Linked DNA regions of Homo sapiens: regions 1 and 3 are each linked to region 2. Evidence: promoter capture Hi-C in human tissues and cell types (Jung and others, 2019). All regions are on one chromosome and are shown on one strand. Each heading gives the region's core, a stretch centred on a gene start or on the middle of the fragment in contact. The rest is flanking DNA. Distances are from core to core; before and after follow the strand shown.

Evidence for each region. The method cuts DNA at HindIII sites, captures the fragments that hold promoters and counts their contacts. A contact is called where the count stands out against the background at its distance.
Region 1: a fragment that was not itself captured here is called in contact with the fragment with the promoter of CYP3A4 in region 2 in 1 of the 25 tissues and cell types used here (pancreas).
Region 3: a contact is called between a fragment that was not itself captured here and the fragment with the promoter of CYP3A4 in region 2, in 2 of the 25 tissues and cell types used here (heart left ventricle and mesendoderm cells).

Annotation. Positions count from the first base shown.
Region 1 is chr7:100,020,403-100,023,912 of GRCh38, reverse strand. It overlaps ZKSCAN1 (zinc finger with KRAB and SCAN domains 1), which reads right to left. Exons shown (of 6, transcript NM_003439.4): 2 at 1-494. The coding sequence starts at 406. Among named protein-coding and RNA genes, the nearest start is that of ZKSCAN1, 6.6 kb to the right of the region's middle. The HindIII fragment of the contact is 5,144 bases long and covers 1-3,510 here.
Region 2 is chr7:99,782,121-99,785,690 of GRCh38, reverse strand. CYP3A4 (cytochrome P450 family 3 subfamily A member 4) reads left to right here and starts at 1,507. Exons shown (of 13, transcript NM_017460.6): 1 at 1,507-1,680. The coding sequence starts at 1,610. RefSeq lists an enhancer at 1,335-1,358, a silencer at 1,379-1,436 and promoters at 1-1,512, 1-1,557, 1,145-1,559, 255-1,559. The HindIII fragment of the contact is 10,602 bases long and covers 1-3,570 here.
Region 3 is chr7:99,645,682-99,649,210 of GRCh38, reverse strand. CYP3A5 (cytochrome P450 family 3 subfamily A member 5) reads left to right here. Exons shown (of 13, transcript NM_000777.5): 13 at 811-1,017. The coding sequence ends at 906. It also overlaps a transcript of ZSCAN25 not described here. Among named protein-coding and RNA genes, the nearest start is that of ZSCAN25, 30 kb to the right of the region's middle. The HindIII fragment of the contact is 7,540 bases long and covers 1-3,529 here.

The DNA.
Region 1 (3,510 bases), core at 938-3,437, 240 kb before region 2:
GCTCCAAGTCTTCTAGAAGGGTCACGGCCTCCTCTCCACTATCGGGGCGGTATTCCTGCAGCCAGACCTGGAGCTCCTTGGGCAGGATGGAAAGAAACTGCTCTAGCACCAGAAGCTCCAGGATCTGTTCCTTGGTGTTTATTTCTGGCCGCAGCCACTGATGACAAAGTTCCTTCAGCCGACTGAGAGCCTCTCGGGGCCCAAAAGTGTTCTGGTAACAGAAGCGCCTGAAGCGTTGGCGGAATATCTCTGGGTCTGGAGGAGGCGTGTCCTGTAGGGTGGAATCCTGCCCCCACATGTGGTCTTCCTCATCTTCCTCTTCCACCTTCACTATTACGATACCATCCTTCTCCTGTGCAGCCTGTGGGGACAGACCCGTGGCTTCCCGTGATTCAGCAGTCATCATTCAGGCTCCAGGAACTGACTTGATCCAAACAGGGTCTGTGCTCACCTTTATGTCCTGGGAGGTTTTATGATGTGTTTCTTTACTATTCCTGAAGTATAAAAAAAAAGTCATTAGTACGTACCTTTACAAAAAGTGATCTGTGCTGCTAACACTTTATAGGAGGCAGCACATCGAGGCACTATCAGAACGCTCCTGAGGCCGGGGGTGGTGGCTCACGCCTGTAATCTCAGCACTTTGGGAGGCCGAGGCAGGCCAATCGCCTGCGGTCAGGAGTTCAAGACCAGCCTGGCCAACATGGTGAAACCCCGTCTCTACTAAAAATACAAAAGTCAGCAGGGCATGGTGGCAGGCGCCTGTAATCCCAGCTACTCGGAAAGCTGAGGCAGGAGAAACGCTTGAACCCAGGAGGTGGAGGTTGTAGTGAGCCGAGATTACGCCACTGCACTTCCTACCTGGGAGACAAGAAGTTAAACTCCGTCAAAAAAAAAAAAATCCTGACAAATCGAGGAAAAAACTGTACAATCTCCACTGTCACTTCATATATCAAGATTTGCAAACAGAAACCTCAAACAGGCCGACTCCACCCTCAGGGTGTTTGCTTGGAGTCAGAGTGATTTACCTGCAGGTTGACAGCAGGTTACGAAATGGAGCATTAACAGTGCCCAGCCCAGAGAGCTGAATGTTAGCAGAGTGCCAGGTGCCAGGCTTAAAGCAGTACACGCACCATCTTCTTTTGTCCCTACAACAGCCCTAGCAGGTCGGCCAAACTGTTAAGTGCTGTTTTACAAATGACATAACTGAGGGTTAGGTTTGCTCAGTAGTAGGTGGCTGCCTACTGGAGTCAATATTCAACCAAATTTGAAGCCCTGGGACCTACTTTTGTACCATCCAGCTACTTTTGCTATTTTTATGAGTGACTTGGGCAGTTAAATTGTGGTTTCCAAAGTACAAGATGATCCGCAAAGGATACAGAAAGAAAATAATTGGAATGTCTGTATCTTAAAAGAGAGAGAAATTAAGCTATAAATTGACACTAATACACTTACTTAGTCTGTGCTGACCTGTCACAGGTGTTGTTCATTTTAGACATTGTGATGTAGACTGGTTTATCTGAGACCAGTTATGTGAAATAATGGATTTCTAAATCTAGCTTTGGCTGGGCGCAGTGGCTCATGCCTATAATCCCAAAACTTTGGGAGGCCAAGGCGTGCGGATCACGAGGTCAGGAGATCGGGACCATCCTGGTCAACATGGTGAAACCCTGTCTCTACTAAAAATAGAAAAATTAGCTGGGCGCGGTGGCGGGCACCTGTAGTCCCAGCTACTTGGGAGGCTGAGGAAGGAGAATCACTTGAACCCAGGAGGCGGAGGTTGCAGTGAGCCGAGATCGCGCCACTGCACTCCATCCTGGCCACAGAGCGAGACTCTGTCATAAAAGAGACAAGCAGCTTTAAAGATTCTTGTGGCCAGATATGGTAGCTCATGCCTATAATTCCAGCCCTTTGGGAGGATGAGGCAGGAGGATGCTTGAAGCCAGAAGTTTGAGACCAGCCTGGGCAACATAGCAAGACCCTGTCCCTATGAAAAAGAAAAAAATTAGCTGGGCATGGGGACTGTGTCTGCAGTCACAGCTACTCAGGAGGCTAAGGTGGGAGGATTGCATGAAACCAGAAGTTTGAGGCTGCAGTCAGCTACGATCACGCCACTGCATTCCAGCCTGGGTGACAGAGCAAAGCCCTATCAGGAAAAGGAAAAAAAAAAAAAAAAAGATTCTTATAGAGAAACTGCAATTACAGGACACACTAATAATATAAACAGATGTGAACAAGAAGAAAATGGCACAGATGAAGCTTCTATCTAGAGTAAGGTTTTAGCCACATTAGGAGGTAAAAACCAATGTCAGTCTAAATCAAAGAAAAAGTCACCAATGAGTAATCAGCTTCTTTAAAGAAAGTGTGAAGAAAGGGCAATTACAGGAACAGCTGTATGAAATGGTTCCATTGTTATGTAATTTAACTGCCAAAAATGATGTCAAGTATCCAGGAAAAACCCATCTATGTTCACATTTTAGAAACTTGGGGCTGGGTGAGGTGGCTCATGCCTGTAATACCAGCACTTTGGGAGGCTGAGGCAGGGAGCAGGGGGCCACCTGCGGTCAGGAGTTCAAGACCAGCTTGGCCATCATCGTGAAACCCCGTCTCTACTAAAAATACAAAAAATTAGCTGGGCATGGTAGCAGGCGCCTGTAATCCCAGCTATTTGGGAGACTGAGGCAGGAGAATCGCTTGAACCCAGGAGGCTGAGGTTGCAGTGAACTGAGATCACGCCATTGCACTCCAGCCTGGGTAACAAAGTGAGACTCCATCTCAAAAAAAAAAAAAAAAAAAAAAGGAAAAAAAAAAGAAACTTGGAAATATTTTCTAACCTGTTTAAAAATCTTTCAAATGAAGAATTTCAGGTGGGTCTTAAGCCTATTTGTTAAAAATATAAAATGCCACCACCTGATTAGTTTGTAAGACTATACCCTGCATTTCAACAACAAAAATTCAGCATGGTTGATAGGTTGGATCAATCACAAGTTACTAAGCAGAACTGACACTGTGATTCTTCCATCTGAAGCTACAAATCTTTCTGAATTTATTCTTTTCACCTCTACAGCCATCAAAACTAAGCATCAAATTGAAGTTTTAGAAACAGACCATTAAACTGCTTTATCATGATGGGTTAAACCGAGTTTTAAACTAGCAAAAGCATTTTTAGTTTTATGGCTCTCACTAAACATATTCTTAATTTTGGTGAAAAAGGGATCATGTACATATAACAGCACAAAAATTATATATACATATATATTGAAACGGAGTCTTGCTCTATCGCCCAGGCTGGAGTGCAATGGCATGATCTCAGCTCACTGCAACATCCGCCTCTCGGGTTCAAGTAATTCTCCTGCCTCAGCCTCCTGAGTAGCTGGGATTACAGGCCATACTTATTTTTTTTAATCTAGTTCCATGAAGTCCAGCTTCCTTTCTTTGGTTCCCTGCCTTCATTTTCTCCCTTCTCTCCCACAATCCACCTTTCAGATTATTCTTTCTAAAACTCTACAGCCT
Region 2 (3,570 bases), core at 258-2,757:
AGGAGGGCTGAATGTGAGAAAGAATAAAGAGAGAAGGAAGCGAACAAGCACAGCTTAAACATCGCCTATTTCTATTGAGTTTTAAGAACGCTGTGATTTTGTTTGTCATGCAATCCATTCATCAGGCCAGGCAGACACAGAACTTGGGTGTGAGTGACGATAATGAGCTGATATAATTTTCACACCCTCATCACTGAGATCTCTCCCATCAGGAATGGGTCAGGGAGCTCACAGGTGGCAGCAACTGCTATTACAGGCCTCATCTCTACCAGCTCCTGGGGCCTGCCCTCCTCCCATTAGAAAATCCTCCACTTGTCAAAAAGGAAGCCATTTGCTTTGAACTCCAATTCCACCCCCAAGAGGCTGGGACCATCTTATTGGAGTCCTTGATGCTGTGTGACCTGCAGTGACCACTGCCCCATCATTGCTGGCTGAGGTGGTTGGGGTCCATCTGGCTATCTGGGCAGCTGTTCTCTTCTCTCCTTTCTCTCCTGTTTCCAGACATGCAGTATTTCCAGAGAGAAGGGGCCACTCTTTGGCAAAGAACCTGTCTAACTTGCTATCTATGGCAGGACCTTTGAAGGGTTCACAGGAAGCAGCACAAATTGATACTATTCCACCAAGCCATCAGCTCCATCTCATCCATGCCCTGTCTCTCCTTTAGGGGTCCCCTTGCCAACAGAATCACAGAGGACCAGCCTGAAAGTGCAGAGACAGCAGCTGAGGCACAGCCAAGAGCTCTGGCTGTATTAATGACCTAAGAAGTCACCAGAAAGTCAGAAGGGATGACATGCAGAGGCCCAGCAATCTCAGCTAAGTCAACTCCACCAGCCTTTCTAGTTGCCCACTGTGTGTACAGCACCCTGGTAGGGACCAGAGCCATGACAGGGAATAAGACTAGACTATGCCCTTGAGGAGCTCACCTCTGTTCAGGGAAACAGGCGTGGAAACACAATGGTGGTAAAGAGGAAAGAGGACAATAGGATTGCATGAAGGGGATGGAAAGTGCCCAGGGGAGGAAATGGTTACATCTGTGTGAGGAGTTTGGTGAGGAAAGACTCTAAGAGAAGGCTCTGTCTGTCTGGGTTTGGAAGGATGTGTAGGAGTCTTCTAGGGGGCACAGGCACACTCCAGGCATAGGTAAAGATCTGTAGGTGTGGCTTGTTGGGATGAATTTCAAGTATTTTGGAATGAGGACAGCCATAGAGACAAGGGCAGGAGAGAGGCGATTTAATAGATTTTATGCCAATGGCTCCACTTGAGTTTCTGATAAGAACCCAGAACCCTTGGACTCCCCAGTAACATTGATTGAGTTGTTTATGATACCTCATAGAATATGAACTCAAAGGAGGTCAGTGAGTGGTGTGTGTGTGATTCTTTGCCAACTTCCAAGGTGGAGAAGCCTCTTCCAACTGCAGGCAGAGCACAGGTGGCCCTGCTACTGGCTGCAGCTCCAGCCCTGCCTCCTTCTCTAGCATATAAACAATCCAACAGCCTCACTGAATCACTGCTGTGCAGGGCAGGAAAGCTCCATGCACATAGCCCAGCAAAGAGCAACACAGAGCTGAAAGGAAGACTCAGAGGAGAGAGATAAGTAAGGAAAGTAGTGATGGCTCTCATCCCAGACTTGGCCATGGAAACCTGGCTTCTCCTGGCTGTCAGCCTGGTGCTCCTCTATCTGTGAGTAACTGTCCAGGCTCCTCTTCTCTGTTTCCTTGGACTTGGGGTGCTAATCAGGCCTCTCTTTCCCTTATCTGTTTTGAAGATCAAAAAAGATGTTCAGGCCGGGCGTGGTGGCTTACACCTGTAATCCCAGCACTTTGGGAGGCTAAGGCAAGTGGACTGCCTGAGGTCAGGAGTTCAAGACCAGCCTGGCTAACATGGTGAAACTCTGTCTCTACTAAAAATACAAAAATTAGCTGGGCATGGTGGTGCACGCCTGTATTCCCAGCTACTTGGGAGGCTGAGGCAGGAGAATTGCTTGAACCCGGCAGGCGGAGGTTGCAGTGAGCTGAGATCATGCCAGTGCACTTCAGCCTGGGTGACAGAGTGAGGCTGTCTCAAAAAAAAAAAAAAAAAAAAAAGATGTTCAAGGAGCAGTAGCTTAAGTGTTGGATGCTACAAACATATAGAGGTTATTGTAGATCTTATGCAGCTCTATAAAGGAATAAATAAGCATCTTCCCCATCCATCTTTAGTGGCAAGAAGGGTTTTGGGATAGCATTGATTGAGGATGATCTACTTGACAATAGTTTGGACCCAAGGAGGATAAGGAAGGAAAGTAGTGACGGATCTCATTCCAAACTTGGCTGTGGAAACCTGGCTTCTCCTTACTAAACTAGAATTTGGATTTTACATTTTCCCCTTTATGTTGCAGTAGAAGAGGATGAATCCTCTCACTGGTGGGATCCTGCCATCCTAGAGCAGGTAGAGAGAAGAGTCACTCCCCACTGTGGGTAGTGGAGGCTTCTCACATGTCACATTTCACTTCTACCTCAATTTCACTCTTACTAAGATTTGGGAATCATAATGACAGGAAAATAGAAAATATAAACCTCATTTTAATTCTTTCACAGAAAGGTTAGAAATTCAGTGAGTTGTGGCAACATATTTTCCATCTTCTGACCTTTTAACACTAATTGATATGGCTTAAATTCATTCTATTTTAAACCAGATTTTTTTGGAGATAGTCTATTTCCAACATGTTCCTTCTAGGTGACAAATGAGGGCTGTTAGTTCAGTATTTGTTACAATAAATGTGTGTAAAATAACCTCACCTTTCCAGAATCATGTCAGGAATATGAATCTAATGCACAAATGTATAACTCTATGACAAGATTGCATATATCTTTTAAAATATACCTTCCCAACGTTCATTTTAATACCCCTATTTCAAACAAACCTGCTTAGCAGGTTATGTTAAACGCTCAGGGCAGAGGAGTAAGCAAGACTGTGAGCCAGTGATGACAGCAAAAGCATCCAGGTAGGATCAAAATGGAGTAAGAAAATATTCCTCATCCCTCAGGGTAGAACTCCAAAGAGATATTCATGGGTCCTGGCCCCGTAGTGGAGGTCACTCAAAGGACAAACATGTTTGCATCTCATCTGCTTGAAGCCTGGACACAGAGGCACCATCTGTGTCACTCTGTGTGTGGTCTGCCATGTTGTGGGGTGGTCACTACAGACTCAGGCAGCTGGGCAGACAATACCTTAGCCTTAGATGATGCTGATGCAGCCCAGGAGTCAGAAACTGTAGTGCAGACAATGCCCTCCTTAGGCCAACACAATTAAGTGCAATAGATGACTGGCTTTTCTGTTAGCCTCTTCATTGGAACCAAAAGCAGCATTACTCTACCAAACAGAGGGGAGCTGGAAAGAAACTACACAGTTTGCCCAGCCTAGCCTCTGCCTTGACACGGAACCATGTGAGTCTAGACATTCACCTAGATCATTCCTTGGGGACCAATGCTGCTGACACATTAACTCAATAGTTTGTCCTGGCCTGAGAGGTCATGTAACTTGTAGAAAGTTTAGAAGCAGAGATTAGTGTCATTTATTTGCCATGGCTGT
Region 3 (3,529 bases), core at 648-3,147, 140 kb after region 2:
GGGGCTCAGCCCTGAGAGAAAGTGGGCCTCTGGCACACCTGGGACAGGGAAGATATTCCCTGGCAAGCTCTCAGGCATCTCAGGCTGGCACTTCTTTGTATCCATGGCAATTTGCTTTCCCCTCACTGAACTGAGATCAGAATGTTACTCTGTTGGTGGCTCCCCCAACAGTGAAGGGGTGACTCAGTGACAATAGTGCTAGAAGTATGAGTCAAAACACTGTACAACTTGAGAAATTCCCCGTTTGCACTACGCTTGGAAGCCAAGAGGAGATGTTAAAAAGAAAAGAATAATTCTTTCTGAAGACATTTCCCATCATTGCACTTGATGGGTTCAACTGGGAAGGGTTACTAGACTCTGGAAGTTGAAAACTGCCCACATAATTAAACTGTACAACAGCTACTCAGGATTACCTTGCAAGTTTTAACCTATAAAAATTTAACTTTATATAGCACTTCCAAAATAGTTTGCCATAATACCTACTAATCTGGATTTAATTTTTAAAACTCATCCTTTTAACTTAAGATTTAAATAAAAAAAAAAAAACACGAGTCCACAAGAATTTGTCTCAGGCCTGGCACAGAGTCAGTGCTCCATAAATATTTTGTTAAACGATGGATGGTGAGTGCTTTTACTATCCAGTATTTACCCAGCTTATAGATTAAGTATGAAGAGTTCAAGATACATGGTGTTAAGAGTCGTTTTTATATGCTTGCAAAGCATTTTTGTCATATTTTTTCTACTTTGCTTCCATCTTTTCTTCTTTCACTTCATTTATTAATTCTCCATATGCTTGTTTAACTATTGTAGATCCCCTTGAAATTAGACACGCAAGGACTTCTTCAACCAGAAAAACCCATTGTTCTAAAGGTGGATTCAAGAGATGGAACCCTAAGTGGAGAATGAGTTATTCTAAGGATTTCTACTTTGGTCTTCAAGAAAGCTGTGCCCCAGAACACCAGAGATTTCAACTTAGTCAATAAAACCTTGAAATAAAGATGGGCTTAATCTAATGTACTGCATGAGTAGTTGGTGATTTTGTACATTCATTGAGCTCTCCCAGAGTCTGTGTAGAGTGTTGTGCATTATGTAGTATAAAGGAGGTGACCAGGTAAGTGACAGATAGGTAGACTCAGCTTCTCTGCTTCTCATAGGACTACCTCTACCCACCTCTAGTTAGCATTATCAACTCCTCCTGAGCTCTCATCAGAGAATAAATATTTCTCAACAATTTGATCCATAACTTTTAAGAAAAATAAGAATTATCATGATGACTCTAATAGTGACATTTATATCACGTTTTATTTGTAATATTCTATAAGTTTTATATTAAGCGAAGTGATAAAATCCCCTTTACAAAAATATTATCTGATGCCATCCTGCACACTAAAGAGAAATCTATAGAACTGAATGACTGAAAACCAGCAAATAAACATTTTTTATCATTGTAATCACTGTTGGTGTGGGGCCTTTGTCAGAATTCCAATTTGATTATTAACATAGGTGAGAGTTAATCTGCTGTGACTTTGCCCATTGTTTGGAGAAAATATTCATAGTTTCATTCTGCCTTCTTTGAAGAACATATTTTTTGTAACACTCAACGAAGCACTTATCATATTATTAGTTATGATTTATTATTTTTACCACATCTCCCCTGACATTTCTGGAACACAGGAAACATGTTTTCTTATACGTCTTGCATTCCATCTTCACCTCCCAATTGTCTTAATGCAATGAACACTGAATAAAAAATTGTCAATTCGTCAGTTGATTGGGCAGCATGTCTAAAAGCACTATTCATTTTCCTTTTTTATTCTTTCATTTTCCCTCCTTTTCTGAATACTAAAGCCATTAGGTGGGTTGCAGCCATGTGGTAGCCACACATTAAGGTGGACAAGAGAGTCATGGTGGCTCCAAGTCAGATTCCAAGTGTGCTGGGGAAGGCATCCACATGGAGGGGCAGCCTGACCTGGAAGCGGGAGCCCAAGCAATCAGAGAAGGGGTCCACACAGAGGTGTGGCCTTCAAGAGCAGCCAGAGCCTAAATAGGGCCTGGAGAACCCACGTGAGGTGAGGAGGGTATCCCTGAGTGGGAAGGGATGGGTGAGAGTTGGCTACATAGAAGGGATTGATCACATAAGTAAATAAAGTATACTGGAAGCTAGGTGTGTCACTTTTGCAGAAAAGAGTCATAGATTCAGAAAGGGAGAAAGCTAGCATTAATCCTATGGTGTTAGATTGGAATGGATGTATCAGTGTACATTCATACTTTTCTAGATAGATAGATGGATAGATAGACAGATGATAGATAGATAATAGATAGTTGATAGATAATTAGATGTAAATATATGTGTTTGTATGTGTGAGCATGCATGTGTGTGTGTGTGTGTGTGTGTGTGTGTGTGTGTGTGTGTATAAAACATATATTCCCTACTTCACTGATAGGGCTAGATAACAATGACATTTCAATAGCAATGAGTATACTTAGTGCCTAGATCTTGGCTTATGAATATCATTTTCCACTGAAGGGAACCAGAGCTCGTTAGAGAAATAGCTGATGCCAGGGCTAGGACTAAAAATGTTCAAGATGAGCCCAGGACACTTTTTGTGCCAGGAAGTAAGAAAACACTCAAATGGTTTCTAAATGGTATTTGGAAATGATTTCTAAATGATATTTCCATATGACTTCCAAATGATATTTTAAAAACCTAAAGACTCCACCAAAGAACTATTAGAACTGATAAACAAATTCAGTAAATTTGCAGGATACAAAATCAACGTACAAAATTGGTAGCACTTCTATATGCCAGCAAGGAACAATCTGAAATAAAATCAATAGCCACAAATAAAATTAAATACCTAGGAATTAACTTAATCAAAGAAGTGAAAGATCTCTACAATGAAAACTATAAAACACCGATGAAAGAAATTGAAGAGGACACAAAAACATAGAAAGATATTCCATGTTTATATATTTCAAGAATCAATATTGTTAAAAATGCCCACAATACCCAAAGCAATATATGGATTCAATGCAATCCCTATCAAAATACCAATGACATTCTTCACAGAAATATTTTTTTAATCCTAAAATTTGTATGGATTCACAAAAGACCAAGAAGAGCCAAAGCTAACATCAGCAAAAAGAACAAAACTGGAGGAAACACATTTACCTGACTTCAAAGTATACTACAGAGCTATAGTAACCAAAACAGCCTGGTACTGGTATAAAAACAGACACATAGACCAATGGAACAGAATAGAGACCCCAGTAACAAATCTACACATCTACAGTGAACTCATTTTTGACAAAGGTGCCAAGAACACAGACTGGGGAAAAGAAATGCAAACTATACATCCAACAAAGGTCTAATAGCCAACATCTATAAAGAACTTAAATGTACAAGAAAAAAAAATTAAAAAATGGGCAATGGACATGAACAGACATTTTTCAAAAGAAGACATACATGTGGACGACAATCATATAAAAAAAAAGCTTAACATCACTGATTACTAGAGAAGTGCAAATC